Regions from separate parts of the Homo sapiens genome. Here region 2 is linked to region 1. Evidence: promoter capture Hi-C in 16 types of primary human blood cells and fetal thymus (Javierre and others, 2016). All regions are on one chromosome and are shown on one strand. Each heading gives the region's core, a stretch centred on a gene start or on the middle of the fragment in contact. The rest is flanking DNA. Distances are from core to core; before and after follow the strand shown. Region 1 holds the start of SLC17A1 (solute carrier family 17 member 1). Region 2 overlaps CARMIL1 (capping protein regulator and myosin 1 linker 1).

Evidence for each region. The method cuts DNA at HindIII sites, captures the fragments that hold promoters and counts their contacts. A CHiCAGO score of 5 or more calls a contact.
Region 2: a contact is called between a fragment that was not itself captured here and the fragment with the promoter of SLC17A1 in region 1, in 1 of 17 cell types (erythroblasts). The highest score is 6.0, in erythroblasts.

Annotation. Positions count from the first base shown.
Region 1 is chr6:25,830,230-25,833,740 of GRCh38, reverse strand. It overlaps SLC17A1 (solute carrier family 17 member 1), which reads left to right and starts at 1,689. Exons shown (of 13, transcript NM_005074.5): 1 at 1,689-1,747; 2 at 3,134-3,217. The coding sequence starts at 3,184. The HindIII fragment of the contact is 946 bases long and covers 1,604-2,549 here.
Region 2 is chr6:25,326,973-25,330,299 of GRCh38, reverse strand. All of the region lies in intron 2 of CARMIL1 (capping protein regulator and myosin 1 linker 1), which reads right to left. LOC124901281 (a long non-coding RNA gene) reads left to right here. Exons shown (of 3, transcript XR_007059512.1): 3 at 1,563-2,594. Among named protein-coding and RNA genes, the nearest start is that of CARMIL1, 49 kb to the right of the region's middle. The HindIII fragment of the contact is 165 bases long and covers 1,671-1,835 here.

The DNA of each region.
Region 1 (3,511 bases), core at 440-2,939:
TGAATGTTGTTGATAACATTCAAAAGGCCAAATGAAAACTCAAATGGCCAAATATTGATAATTATTGAAGTGGGTGAATATGTACACAGTTATCTTAAACTGATCTACTTTTTTGTATGCTTAAACATTTCCATAATAAAATGATAAATTTAAAAATTTAATACATAAAACACAGAATCCAAAAGAAACAATTTCAAAGAATCTCACAGAGCAGCAGAAAGCTTTGGGGCCAGCAAACAGAAAGATGGTTCTCCTTCAGGTAATCAGTATCCAGAACTGGGATACTGATGGCAGATGGGAGTGTTATTATTTAACACATGGACTTTGAACAACTGCTGACCTAGGGGTTTCAATCACTAAAAGGGCTCCTCTTTCAGAAAATGCCAGAAATTGCCCAGCATGAAACAGGACAGTACAAACATTCTGCAACACACAGAAGAGGACCAGCAGAATCTGGACTTTTGAAAAAGAAAAAATCTAACTGAATAACAACATCAAAGTCTCCTGGGCAAAGGGGTTAAAGATTTACAACATTTCTTTAGAGGAAAAAAATAACTGGTTGAATTTACAGAGCATCTGCTATGTGCCAAACATTTAATGAGCACTTTAAAAGCATGATAAAAATTAAAAAAAAACTTGTTAAGCATGAAATAAATTACCTATAATGCAAAATCACTGATTTTAGTGCTTGGATATTTTTAAGTAATTAGTAGATTACCTTCAAAGAGTTCTAAGTTAAAAGTATTAGGGGCCAGGCACGACGGCTCACGCCTGTCATTCCAACACTTGGGAGGCCAAGGCACAAGGATTGCTTGTGGCAGGAAGTTTGATATCAACCTGGGCAACACAGCAAGACCCTGTCTCTACCAATTAGCTGGGTACAGTGTTGCATACCTGTAATCCCAGCTACTTGGGGCTGAAGTGGAAGGATCCCTTGAGCTCAGGAGTTCAAGTCTGCACTGAGCTATAATTGCACCATAGCACTCCAGCCTGGGTGACAGTGTGAGATCCTGTCTCTCTATGTTTTTTTTTTAATGTTTCTGGATATTGCTATAACCAAGTGGATGAACCAGAACCTACAGTAATTGCAGGAAGAGCCATGAGAGAAGCCACACCTTCCAGAGGACATGCCTCAATAAAATGTACCTCTTTCTGAGTATGCTGAATGTCAAACAGATGTACTGTTTAGAGAGGAGTGTGGAGGAGACAGGGTGAGGGAAGGAGGGAAAGCAAGGAAGGAGGGAGAAGGAAGAAGGGAAAGAGAAGGAAGAAAGAAAGAAAAAAGGAAGAAAAGGAGGAAGAAAGGAAGGAAGGGAATTAAGAGTAAAAATTTAATATGGCATTTATGGGGCATTTAGAAAGCCACAACATTCCTGTGAGAACAGCATTGTATACTCAGAGCCATCCTTAATAGAGAAATCTTGAGAGCACTTATGGCAGGCAAGCTCTACCTCCTGGGCAGGGAGAGAGACTAAGGGTGTCTGCTTATTATGCCATGAAATTACTGGCAGATTCCCAGTTTCTGGTCCACTGGATGATTTTGACCCACACACCTTCCCTGAAGCTTTAAGGAAAAGGTAACAGTAAAGTTAAAAATTAAGCTTTTAACTTCGACACAGTGATGTCAAAAGATTTGGTGAATGATTTATGGGGCTAAACTTGGTAATCCTAGAAAGTCAATATTGTGTAAAGTTGAGAGAAAAGTCTTCACAGCGGAAGAAGAAATCACTTTTTTGTCCCGAATCAGGTTAGTCTACGGGGCTCATTAAATGAAATGAGCAATCAGTTGATTCCCCAGAGGGCCGTAAGGGGGCATTCCCTGGCAAAGATATTATTGAAAGTACTTAGCAATAGGGGAAAATGTGGGGAGGGGTGGAATATGCCCTATCTTCTGAGGCTTTTCACAAGAGAAAAAAGAACATATTTTTAGCAATCAGTGTGAGGTTCACAGGGACACAAGGAAAGAGAAGTATGTGTTGTACAGTGTGTGATGCTTGTATAGCTGTGGTGTGCTGTGTCTGTAATGTGTGTGGCACACTGTGTACGCCTGGTGCATCTGTGCCCATCATTTATGTGTGTGTGTGGTTATGTGTGTGGTGTTTGTAGTTTGTACTTCCGTTTTGAGGATGCAGTATTGTAACGTATTTATATGTTTGGTTTGCTATGTGTCTGGAGTGTATGTGTGGAGAACATAAGGGGAGTTTGTACCATGTGTTTATGTTGTATGTATGTATGTGGTGCATACGTATGGGTGGTTTGTGTGTGCATTTGGTGTGTATGTATATATGTATTGAAATAAACAGCAGCCCCAGAAGAGGTTCCAATGTGTGATAATGATGGTTGACAAATTGCTTATTCAAAAATATTTTGCAAATCCAATCTCAGGACTTTGGTATCTTTGGGGCACTAGGTATCATATAATCTGATATGGTAAAATCCTGAGGTCTAACCTGACCAGCACATATTGGTGCTGAATTCTGATGGTAAGGGGTTGCCTGATAGGAGACTGCTCCATTCTGATTCTCCACTGAGCTTCCTGCCATAAAGCTTTGCATCAGTGGCTGCTCTATCCACGGAAACTGAAGATACGGACAGGGGCATGTGGACGTGTAACGAATGATTAGCCTCTGCTTGAGTTGATCTTATCAATAAGCAGATAGTATCTTCCAGCTCTATTAAGATACAGGGGGAAAAAAGGAATTTGTTTTACCTTTGCTTACTCCTTTTCTGACATTCTTCCTTTCTTTTCATACTGCCGAGTTTCTGACCTATAGCAATCTCCTTCTGCCTGAAAGGCTTCTTTTAGTGTTCCTTACAGGGCAGGTCTACTGGCAATGAATTCTTTCCATTTCTCACTTTGGAGGAATATTATCACGGATTTAGAATTCTGGATTGGCAGGGTTATTTGTTTGTTCTCTGTAGTTTTCAGGTCTTCCATATATTTTTAATCAACCAAAACAATCACAAAAGTAAAATAAATATCAAGGGAAGCACATAATGGAGGTGAATGGGCACTGCTGTGATGGAGCAAGTTATCCTTGGAAGCGGTTTTAAATCAGAGAGGAGTACTGGGTAGTGTTTGGTCAGTTGCCTCTCTACATTATGCTGACATCAACGTGTTTTGCACTCACAGTGGGTGGAGGCAAAACCCTTCAGCAAGAAGAGAAGCAACTTCAGCCGTGTATGCAAATGGATAACCGGTTGCCTCCCAAAAAAGGTAGCACTTTATTCTGTTCCATTAAACAGGTGTTCTTTTTCTTAAATATTACATCACAGATTCCATGTGGAAGAATATTTTTGTGATATACATATGGGGTCTTAAAAATGTTCAGAAAAGAAGGTAGAAGAAACCAGTCCTACTATGGTTTTCCACCAGAAAAGCCCTAAATAAAAAGATTCTACATACTCTGGTGGCTTACACTTTATTTTCATTTTTGCGCACTTGTCAGTTTATCATTTAGTGGAAAATATCAGAAAAAACTGGGCTATTTTGGTTCCATCTCCAAGAGAA
Region 2 (3,327 bases), core at 504-3,003, 500 kb after region 1:
GCCAGCTCATCCGGGCCTTAAGGCTCAACTCAGTCATCACCATGGAGCATCCCTCTAGCCCTGCACTGGGCCAACGCCAGTCTATAATCGCACAGTACCATGGGCACACCTCTTACCACACCGTACTGTTCAAGTCTGCATGTTCTGTCTTATTTATCTTCCTGCCTCTGGTAGCAGCATAAAGCCTGACACATCATGAGCATTCAATGTTTACTGAACTAACTCCAGAATGAAACTCTCTTCTACTTGCCCTCAACTCCCTACCTTCAATTTCCTGACCTACAACAGTGTCCTCAATGTGTTCTTTTAACAATGAATGTCTGACGCTGAATAGGATCAAGTGCTTTGCACAAGTTCATCATTAAACAACTCATATCAGAGACTAATGATAATGAGCTGATGCCCAGACTGGGAACTAAAACTTCGCAAATAACTTCTCATATGCTGAATCCCCTGAACAACTCTGGAGGACAGATATCCCTGTTATCTTTTCATTGTTTTCTTCAACCCTATCTTTCAAAACACACATACAACAAGAGCTGAGATACTTTGAGTATCTTTGAAAAATTTTGTCTGAAGCAAGAAGAAATCTGCATTTAGGTATCACTGATGAGGTAATCAGAATTCTTGTTTGACTTCTCCAAAAGATCCCTGATGCATTCAATTTACATATGTGCTTCCTCTCAGCCATATCCTGGTCTGAATACCAGCAATGTCACTTACTAGACAGACTTTGCTCATGTGCTTTTACAAGATAATACAAACTTCTGAATGTGTCATGTCCTGATCATTTAGGCTAAGGATCAATGAACTCAAATGTATAAGGAGGCCAAAGTAGCTTTGTCAAAGAGCAAAGCCGGCTCTGTGGAAAAAACGACAGCCTTGAGGACAATGACAAATTGCAGTCAACATGGGCATCACGGCCAATGAGAAACACTAGGGTGCTTTCGGGATGGCAGAAAGCTGAAAAGAGCTTGCCACTGCTAAAAGAAAGAGCCTGGTCACAACCCAGCTCTTCCGATTCCTGCTAAGCACAAACATAGACCTAGTGTTCCCAGATCCAACTTTCTTTTTTTTAAAGGTGGGGGAGGATGGAATCTAGATTTATGGCTGATATCTCCCAATTTATAAATATTGGGAACCAACATCAATTTTTTAAATACTGCGTATTTAAAGCACAGTAGAGCAGGCTGCAAGCCACCAGCCTGTGACATCTGGCTTTACGCCTAAGTTGCTCATTATCATTTTAAATGGCCCACTGATTCTTATAAACTTTTGTCTTCTCCAACATGACAGAAAGATCTTTTGTGACTGGAAATACATATGACCCTCCTAAGACTGGCACCCATTGTAGAACCCAAGATTTGATGTCCTGGACTCAGGAATAGATGGATTAAAGCATCCATGTTAATTAACATGAAGTTTTGTCTAGCTCACCAATCCAGGAGATTTTTTTCCCCTCTCATTGCATTTTTTTTAAATTTTTAATTATTATGACTACATAATAGTTATATATATTCCTCATATCTCAATTTAATTACCACAATCACTGTTTTTACAAGGTCCCAGGCAAGAAGAGGTGAGGCAAATGGAGGCTCTGAGGAAAGTGGCTCCAAAGCCTACATGATGGAAGATAACTCTGGAAGAGAAAGAGATGACGTTCCTAAGCTTGTATAGCAAAACTTGAGAGAAGGTAACGAAGATGTGACATCTGAACTCAGAGAAATATAACTTCTATAGAAAAGAAACAAGGCCTTGCAGCTCTATAAGGAACAGTAAATAAATCAAGTATGCACACAAGAAGTAAAAAAATATATCCAAGTAGAAAGGAAGCTTTTCATGAAATGTCCACAGAGCTCATGCTCTGTAGTGACTGTAATGCAAGATTCAAGGCTCTATCTAGAAAACTCCTAGCCAGTCTTGACGGACCAAGCCCTACACTGAGCATGTACAGAGTCTTCCTGTTCCATGCAGTACTTGCTAACAAAACTAATTTAAATGCCTTACCATGACTCGATCTCCTTTAAAGTACCTCATTAGTCCTTGATATCCCTTTGCTGTATCTCTGGCTTGCCTTGCCACTGCTCTGTGAGTCCCCACAACTCCTCCTCCACACATACTCTTCCCCCAAGAGCTTGGCACAGAATAAAGATCCATTTTAGATCTGGATTTAAATAGTTTTCTTTACTAGCTCATTTCCTTATCTACTAATGAGGGAAATACCACCTACGTCAGAGTGGGAATTAAATGAAATAATAAACCTAAAGACCCCAGCTCAATGGTTCAAACATAAATAATGCCAAATATTCATTCCTCTCCCCATGCCCATATCCTCTCACCAAGCCCCAATGTTCTATAGCTTATGACCCAAAACGCTAAAAGTAGAACATTCTAATATTGAGCATATTAACAGAAGCTTGAAGAGATATGCAAGTTATAAATCTGTTTTTGTTCTTCCTCACCAATATAAATTTGCTAAGTGACAGATTAAGACAGTCAATTCCAAGAAGTTGGATTCAATAACATGACATGAGGCACAAAGTAGCCCATATCAATAGCCAGGAATGATTTTATTGCAGCTTGTTATGCTAGTTGCCAGGAATTTTTTTTTAATCTTGAATGTTGCTTTAAATATAGTAATAAAAGAAAATATGACCGGCTGTTGAAGCCCATATGCTACTCCTTTTCAGGACTACAAAATGCTCATTCAGACTTTGTTTGTGCACAGCAAATAGTAGCCGGAGGGGAGCCAGTGAAATCAATGAAAACTTACTGTTTGGAAAACTAGCAAATAGAAAATTGGGGCTGTGTTTCTCTGGTTTCTTCTAATCTAAAACCTGTGATGGAAATCAAGTTGATTCTTGACTTTTTATTTCAATTTCACTGACAGTCCAAATAGAATGCCTAGTGATCTCTATGCTACAAATCTCCGCTTCATCATACAAATTAAGCACAGTTGATCACTCTGTTCCTGAAATATTTCCCCATGAAACCAGTTTCCTGGTTTTCTTCTCTTCTCTCCCTGGCCGTTCTTTCTGTTCTTTTGCTGGCTCTTGCTCCTGTGAATGTCAAGAGTTCCTTCCAGCTTGGTCCTTTGCCCGCTCTTGCACCCTCTCTCCTTGCTATCTCTCTCCTTGGTGATATCACACCTATTTCAATTGCTTTAAATACTCCCTGTACACTGGCAAGTCCCAAATTCCTTTCTGGAAACTGTATCTTTCTGCTGAGCTGTATTTGAAACTACATCTTCCCTCTGGACTGTACGCTCATTTTGCCATCAACAGCCAACATCTTCACTTGGACATTTCATGAACACTCCAAACGCAA